Linked DNA regions of Homo sapiens: region 1 is linked to region 2. The links are contacts of gene promoters, found by promoter capture Hi-C in human tissues and cell types (Jung and others, 2019). All regions are on one chromosome and are shown on one strand. The core of a region is centred on a gene start or on the middle of the fragment in contact, and the rest is flanking DNA. Distances in the headings are between cores, read along the strand shown.

Evidence for each region. Contacts are between HindIII fragments. The study calls those that stand out against the background at their distance.
Region 1: a contact is called between a fragment that was not itself captured here and the fragment with the promoter of ZBTB43 in region 2, in 2 of the 25 tissues and cell types used here (IMR-90 fibroblasts and mesendoderm cells).

The regions. Positions count from the first base shown.
Region 1 is chr9:126,739,632-126,743,816 of GRCh38, forward strand. No RefSeq gene overlaps it. Among named protein-coding and RNA genes, the nearest start is that of ZBTB43, 63 kb to the right of the region's middle. The HindIII fragment of the contact is 3,481 bases long and covers 251-3,731 here.
Region 2 is chr9:126,802,697-126,806,910 of GRCh38, forward strand. It overlaps ZBTB43 (zinc finger and BTB domain containing 43), which reads left to right and starts at 2,344. Exons shown (of 3, transcript NM_014007.4): 1 at 2,344-2,436. RefSeq lists a silencer at 1,959-2,008 and enhancers at 2,070-2,571, 2,639-2,698, 3,109-3,218, 3,369-3,518. The HindIII fragment of the contact is 16,594 bases long and covers 1-4,214 here.

The DNA of each region.
Region 1 (4,185 bases), core at 741-3,240, 63 kb before region 2:
TCTTGGGGGCTCAGTGTTGGTCTCTGCTGCTGGCAGGTCAGGCACACAGCAGTGACTGTGGCCAGATCAGCTTTGTTAAGTGTAAGTCCATGTTGCTAAGCCTATGAATAACCTCCATCCCTGCCTACATAGCCACTTAGTTCATCATCCCATACAGGAGTAACTGGGGAGAGAGGTTGACTGGAATCCAGAGAATGGGGCATCCTGTCCACCTGAGTATTATGATTCTTCTCTGCTAAAGTTGCTCTTTGACGAGCATTTGCATGGACACAAATATCTTCACACCATGTGACAATTTAGGTTCATTCACATATCTCTTCCCCAGATCTCTTTGTCACCAACTATGCAATCTTGTTCTTTCCAAGTCCCTGACCATCCAACCAAACCATTAGCCATCTCCTGCAATTAATTTTTATTAATCACCTCAGATCTATACCTCTTGCCAGCTCTCCTTCCAGGAGAAATGAACAATAAGGTGCACTGCTCAACTCTCCACTGGGAGGACTTCCCATTCCCACTGCTCTTCGGAACCACCCCAGAGTGTGGTTTAGTACTACAGTGGTCCACCTATAGATTGTTCCAGCCTGTCTTGCAGAACCATTTATTTTCCAGTCCAAATGTTTTCTTTCTCAGTTAACTGGTCACTGGGAAACTTCTCATGACTGCACAGGTACAGACTGAAAAGGAGGAGGCAAAGTAGGAGAACCAGGAGTCACTTGTGCCTTTCAGATCCACTCAAGCCCAACCTAGTACAAAACACCTCTGCTTGCTGAGGGATTGATGGGATATGATGGTGTGGATACGGCAGAGTTGTCTGTGGGCCCACCAGGCACACAGTGAAGTTGACACAAGCCAAAACTCCATTAGTCACCCAATTGCCATAATCCCCTTCTTTCATTGGTGAACCACGATGTCATTTTGGGTCCCCAAGCATGCAGTGATCTCCAAAATTCTGGTTCTTTCCCCCTCCCCAGTGTATAGTCATCCTGGGAAATGGCTGCTGGTAGCTTAGGAAGGTCTAGGAGGAAGAGTCATGATGTATTGAAAAAGTTGCAGTGCACACTTTTGGCAGTAGCATTCCTTGTGTTGATTCAAGTCAGACTTCCATTCACTGGACCTAGAGCTTTTTTGCTTATCCGAATCAAGCAAGACTTTAATAATCAACTACCAATGCTAAAGCATTCTTCAGATCAGACCATTCTGGATACTGCTTTGGCTTCGCTGTCCATTATGGGAATCATGCCCACCTTGTCTCTGTTAAGTGCTACCACTTGGTCCCTGCTACCCCAGGATCCCATCATCCCTATTGAATCCAGAGAGCTCAGTTTCATGGCTCATGGCATCATTTCCCACTGTAATTCCTCTCTTGAAGAGAACTGATACTATGGGACTCTTCGGAGTTGCTGAGACTCCCTTCATCAATACCAATGCATTGCTTTTTCTTTTCTTTTCTTTTCTTCTTTTTCTGAGACAAGATCTCATTTTGTCACTTGATCATCAAGCTCATTGCAGCCTTGAATTCCTGGGCTCAAGTGATCTTCCTGCCTCAGCCTCCTGAGTAGCTGGGACTACAGGCATGTGCCACCATGGCCAGTTCAGTTTTTTTGTAGAGATGGGGTTTCACTATGTTACCCAGGCTGGTCTCAAACTCCTGGCTTTAAGCAGTTCTCCTGCCTCAGCCTCCCAAAGTGCTGGGATTACAGGAGTGAGCCACTGCACCCGGCCTTATTTCTAAAACCCTTGGTGAGCATATTATTTCCTAAAACTAATTATTGGTGAGCTAATTATCTCCTAAAGCCTTGATAAGCATAAACTTAGGGCCCTCCTGGGAGACATGGAGAGGGGGTGGGTGAGTAGGACATAAACAATGAATCTCTTCCAGCTTTCTGTCCCTAAGTTTTGGATATCTCCGTCTATAGTATATCAAGAAAGTCATGAAATTTCATCCTTATTCAGTATGGTCCATATATGGATCCAGGTTTCAATCAACCAACGGAGCAACTGTTAGAGTCCCTCTCAGCCACTCAAACTACTGCAATAAATCTAGAGTCTTCACTTACCTATTAATATCAATAAATTCAGCCAGATTCTACATTATATTGCTCCCACCAAAATCTGACAGTTAGGGTCCATTCCCATGTTGATACAAGTTGGAGACACCTTATAATTCTTTTCTGTATGTACAATGCCTCCTCATGAGTCACACTTTGTGCTTGATCCCATGAAGCTTACTGGGTTTGAGTCTGGTTATAGTTCTAGAAGCAATGGGTGTGTATGCGGGGTGGGGGTGGTGTAGGTCCTGAGGAAGATGGCCATTCCCCTGTAGGAATATCACCTCAGGAGAGGCCATTAGAGATTTTCCAGGCAAGTGGTGAGTAAACTCCCCAGAGGGAGAGGAAGGGATGCTTCCACTGACAAAAAGCTTGGTGGGATTGGGAGTTCAAGGTTCTTATCTTCATCGGAATCTTCCCAGATACCCCCACTCCAAATTTTAGGGTCCCACTCCTTCTCAATCAATGACCTCTAACTTTAACATGAGACCTTCCAAGGTTGTAAATTCAATCAGCATCATAATTTAGCTACCCAAGGGATTAGATTTAGAGTTTGGTTTTTAGAAATCAACCTGCAGCTCCAGGAGGTGAAGTTTTTTCTTTTCAGAGCATATGGAAGTGCTTCTTGATTGTTTACCCATTTCTTCATCTGAGAATTTAAAGTCCTGCACTCATCATCATCCTCTCCAAATTTTCCAGTGCACTTAGAAGCAACCAACCTGTTGGGCGCAGTGGCTCACACCTGTAATCCTAGCACTTTGGGAGGCTGAGGCAGGCAGATCATGAGGTCAGGAGACTGAGACCATCCTGGCTAACACGGTGAAACCCTGTCTCTACTAAAAAATACAAAAAATTGTCCGGGCGTGGTGGCTCACACCTGTAATCCCAACACTTGGGGAGGCTGAGGCGGGCGGATCATGAGGTCAGGAGATTGAGACCATCCTGGCTAACACGATGAAACCCCGTCTGTACTAAAAATACAAAAAATTAGCCAGGCATGGTGACATGCGCCTGTAGTCCCAGCTACTCAGGAGGCTGAGGCAGAAGAACCACTTGAACCCAGGAGGCAGAGGTTGCAGTGAGCCAAGATTCCGCCACTGCACTCCAGTCTGGTGACAGAGTGAGACTCCATCTTTAAAAAAAAAAAAAAGTAAAGAAGCAACCAACCAACCCCTGAATCCTTGTACCATTTATTTCCACCAAAATGTTCTATGGCAGTAGTTACTTGGTCAAGAAAAGTCATGCCTTCTGTAGGCCTTGATGCCAAGAGTCTAAAGATGATAATTTAATAGCTCTTCTCCAGCACGTGCCATCAACCACCGGCATCCCCTTTACTCCTAAAAGCAGTATCCTTAATGCCTCTATATCTACTCGGATGGGAGAACCAAACCACATTCCCATCCTTAACATTCTCTTCCCTGGAAAGCATCATTAGTATCAATAACTGCATCAGTCAGGGTTTGGTTAGGGAAGCAAAGCCACTGTGAGTGTTACAGGATACAGATTTATTACAGAGATTAGGCCTGAACAATGTGGGTAGAGCTAGGGAAGTGAAGGTCATGGGGGGAATTGGAGGATCACAGGCAAAGTCACTAAGTCATCCTCCTCCTGATGCATCGGAGGCTCGGTTGGAATCGAAACCAAACAAATCGAGCCACTAAAAATGGGATTGCAAAGGGGTCATTGTAGGGAGGTCCATGGGATGCTGTTGCCTCTTGGTAGCTCTTCCTCTGTGACTCCACAGTTAAGCATCTTGTAGGGGACATGGAGCTGCTCCTGGTGAACAAGAAGAGCCGGTTGTGGAACTGAGAACAAGGAAGACAGGTTGGGACCCACCCTGCACCTCAGCATCTGTCTGTTACCATACTCGACCACAGTGACAATCAGGGAACCATGGCAACTCCTGCACTTCTTCCAGCCACCTCCTGTCTTGGTCAAGTGTCCCCTGGAAGGAGATTCTGGGAGCGGTAGTTCATAGCTTAACCAAGCTGGCACTAGAACATTGCAGTACAGGGAATATAATGGCTTTAGAGCTCATAAACTTGCAAGTTATTATTTCAGATGCCGATTGAGACTAGATTGCTCTGTCAAAGCATTCTCCAAATGGCATGGAGAGAGAATCTGATGGTCTCAG
Region 2 (4,214 bases), core at 1,094-3,593:
TCCAGGGGAATGTTTTCCCCTTCTGCTCAGAACCAAGGCACAGAGAGACATCTTTAATTGCTGCACCTCTGTACGGCAGATTTTTTCCACCATAGTTTATCCTTCACCTGAGGACATATTTCTTCGTGAGTTCCAACCTGATGTTGCAATTTGACTCTTATCCTGCCTGGACCCAGGTGAACGCTCCTATAGCTGGTAGCAGTATCAGTGTTTACCTATCTCCAGAGATAATTTTGAAAATATTTGTCAGTACAGGACATGCACCAATGGATCGGAACAGATGCAGACGGTACCTCTGCATAATTTCTGAACATCAATTGTTTGACTTCCCAGGCTTGTGTTCTTGTTTTCCTCCTAGCTTCAGATAATTTTCCTGACTTTTTTTTTGCAAGTGTATCCATGCGTTTAAGAGGGTATTCTAAATATTTCTTCTAGCAATTTTATATATTTTGTTGTAGTAATATTTGTAAATATATAGTCCTCAATATTGCCAGAAATAAAGTCCAAGTAAGAAGTTTATTTGGCTCATGCAACAAAACACTTAAGGGTGTCCAAAGCTGGAACTGTGGCCTAATGTCATATGGGACCTAGGTTCTCTCAATCTTCCTGCTTTGCCAGCCTTAGCATTTACTTACCACTTCATAGGCACATGATGGCAGTTGAACTTCCAAACTTCAGGTCTGCTTAGAGGCAGGAATAAAAGTGGCAAAACACTTAAAGAGTATACTCAACTAGGCTGGGTGCAGTTGCTCACGCCTGTAATCCCAGCACTTTGGGAGGCCGAGGCGGTTGGATCATGAGGTCAGGAGTTTGAGACCAGCCTGGCCAAGATGGTGAAACCCCGTCTCTACTAAAAATACAAAAATTAGCCAGGCATGGTGGCATGCACCTGTAGTCTCAGCTACTCGGGAGGCTGAGGCAGGAGAATCGTTTGAACCTGGGAGGCGGAGGTTGCAGTGAGCCAAGATTGTGCCACTGCATTCCAGCCTGGGCAACAGAGCAAGAATTCGTCTCCAAAAAAAAACAAAACAAAACAAAACAAAACCACAAGGCGGGGGAGCTGGAGCATACATGTTTGAAGTAGAATCTTTGACAAGCTGTTCTGCATCCACTCCCATTTCTGTGCTTCCATATTTGTTTTCTTTCATTTTGTTTTCTAGAAAAAAAAATTTTTTTGGTAGAATTCTCTAGGAAAGCTACACTCCTGTGTCCTAGGGCCCAACAACAAGCAAGACAGGCATAACAGCTGGGAAACCAATCAGCTTAAACTGAGACAGACAATATCAAACAGGCATGTCAGGCCCCACGAGAACATCCACCCTAAATCCAGAAGGCATTATGACCACATCGCTTCAGCTGCCTGGATTTCAGGTATAAATTAGTTCTTCTACAAAGAGGGCACTTGGTCTGTAAACGGGTCCAAAGGTAAGAGTCCCACCGCTAAAGACCTATCTCTCTTCTACACTAACATGGGGGGGCAGTGGGGAAGAAAGGGGCGAGAAGAGGTATGGAGGTTTTGGGAGGGAGTGGGAGAATTGGAGGCTAGAGAGATCGTTTCTGTCCCACCATCTGTGTGACCCCAGTGCCCAGCACAATGCAGCCCACGGAAAGGCACTGGTCCTTTCATTGACCATTTACTGAGCATCTACTACATGCCAAAAAGCGAGATGGGTGCTGTGAAGGCAGAAACGGATTTGGAGATAATCTCCGCCAGGCATACTGAGGTCAAGGTTTTCGTTCGTTTGTTTAGAGAAGAGACGGAGAAGGTCAAGGTGTTTTTGTTTGTTTTGTTGTTGTTGTTGTTGTTGTTTAAGAGTCTTGCTCTGTGCTCAGGCTGGAGTGCAGCGGCGTGATCTCGGCTCACTGCAACCTCTGCCTCACGGGTTCAGGCAATTCTCCTGTCTCAGCTTCCCAAGTAGCTGGGATTACAGGCGCGCGCAACCACGCTCAGCTAATTTTTGTATGTTTTGTAGAGACAGGGTTTCACCATGTTGGCCAGGATGGTCTCGAACTCCTAGCCTCAAGCGATCATCCCCTCTCGGCCTCCCAAAGTGCAGGGATTACAGACGTGGGCTACCGCGCCTGGCCTATGCCAAGGTTTCAAGAAGGTTTAGAACTCAGTATCTGCTCCCCTATTTTCAACAGCGTAGTCAGTCCCTAAAATTGACCCGCTCCAGAGTGTACTGCGCAGGCGCCCGCTACCTCCGCGCTCTCTCCCGACGCCCAGCTCAGACGGTAAGTCCCGCATGCGCACTCCGCTTTCTCTCTGACGCACCCCCGGAAGCACTGTCAGTTTCGGGGGGCGGGACCGGGAAGCGTTTCCGGGGGCTGAAGGCACAGGCTGAATCTGTTGCGGCAGCTGAGGCTACAACAGGCCTGCGCCGGCGGCAGAGAGGATATCTTGGGCGGGGGATGTGAGCGCTGAGCCCTTGGCAGGTACTGCGTGGCCAGGACCACGGGCGGCAAGGGTAGGGGAGGAGAAGTCGGTGGGGGAGTTAAGGGCTCCTCAGCAGGCCCCGACGCTCGCGCCGCTGGCCCCGCCAGGCCCATTCCGTGGACCGGCATACCAAAGCCCCGCGCGGGAGGTTGGGGTCCCGGCGCTCCAGCTCCGAATCCCGCAGTCTTCTGCCCACACGGCGCGCAGACCGCGATACCGAGGCCTTTGGGGCAGCTTCTCGCCCAAGGTCACCCTCGCGGCGGCGGAGCTCCGCCGGCCACAGCGCTTAGAGATCCCGCCCCCGTCCGTCCGCTGGCCTTTCGGGGCGTAGGGTGGGCGCGGCTTGACGACCTCGGGTTCGAGCCACCAATGCCTGAGGCCTGACGAGCCGAGCTGGGAGAAAGACTGCGCCTGGACTTAGCTGATCTTCTGTTTAAGTAAAACATTCAGCATCCCCTGTTGCTGTCTCTGTCACCTGTTGTAACCTGCCCTTTTTGTCTTTCAGCTAGGTCGCTGTCAACCTGATATTTCTCTCCACTTTGTCTTTGTCGGGGTATCTGGATCCTGTTTTATATCTGTCTCCACCTTGCTTCTGTGTCTGTTCACCCTGTCTCTGCCACTCAGCCCTTACTCTAATTCAGGGCCTGTCAGTCTGGCTTTTTGGCCATCTGTCTGTTTCTCTCTTTCTGCCAACTTTGTTTTTGCCTCTTGTCTCTCTTTCCTGAGTTTGGGTGGGGCAGGGCTGCCCAGACCTCTGAGCCATGGAAGGTGACTCATGACCCCGTGAAGTTCCCTGCACTGGTGACACTCTCAGTGACTCGACCGCAGTTTGGCCTCAACTCTGACAGGTGTCGCCCAACATAAGTGTCAGAGTGCAGGAGAGCCTGTCAGGGAGACAGGAGGCCCATTTTAGGGCCAGAGCAGCTTGATGAGTCCTCTCCTTTTCTCGCCTGTGGTTTCTCAGGCCTGCACAGCTTCCCAAATGCCTTCGCTCTATCCACTCACCACAGGATGGTCTCCAGGGATCTCTGGAGCCTGCTCTTTGAGTTACAGCTGTTTAACAGGCCTGTCTACAGGCTAAGAAAGGATCAGACTGAGGTCTTTGGGGCTACTGGAACAGTAGCAGGGTTTCTGGGATAACTGCATGCTTAGTTCAGAGATTGTGTCAGCATTTTCAGTTAAATTATAAGAAACCTAATAATTGGGAATTTATTATTTGCTTTATAAAAGCACCACGGGAGAAATAAACCACACACAAAAGGACAAATGTTGTTTGAGAGCACTTAAATGAAGTACCTAGAATAAACCAATTAAGAGACGGAAAGTAGAATAGTTTACCAGGGGCTGGGGAGAGGAGTTATTGCTTAATGTTACAGAACAGAGTTTTGGGGGATGATGAATAAGGTCTGGAAATGGGTTGTGATGATTGCACAACATTGTGAATGTACTTCACTGAATTGGACTCTTAAAATTACTTAAAATTGTTAAGTCTTAAAGTTTTATGTATATTTTATACAATACAAAAAACAAAAACAGTATTCATTGGAGACTCCTGAAACCAATAAGCTCCTTTTACATGTAATTTTTCAAAATTCATTCTGTAGTTGTTAGGAACACAGTTGAACCTGTGTTTATTGATTCCTACTCTCTTTACAGCAGTGGGTACAGCTGAGGTTCTTAGAAAAGTTTAGTTAAATGAATTTGGTTAAAATCTTTCTCAGGCTTTCTACTTACTTTCTGCCCTGGCTCTCCTCCCTCTGCCTTTCTTGGAATCAGT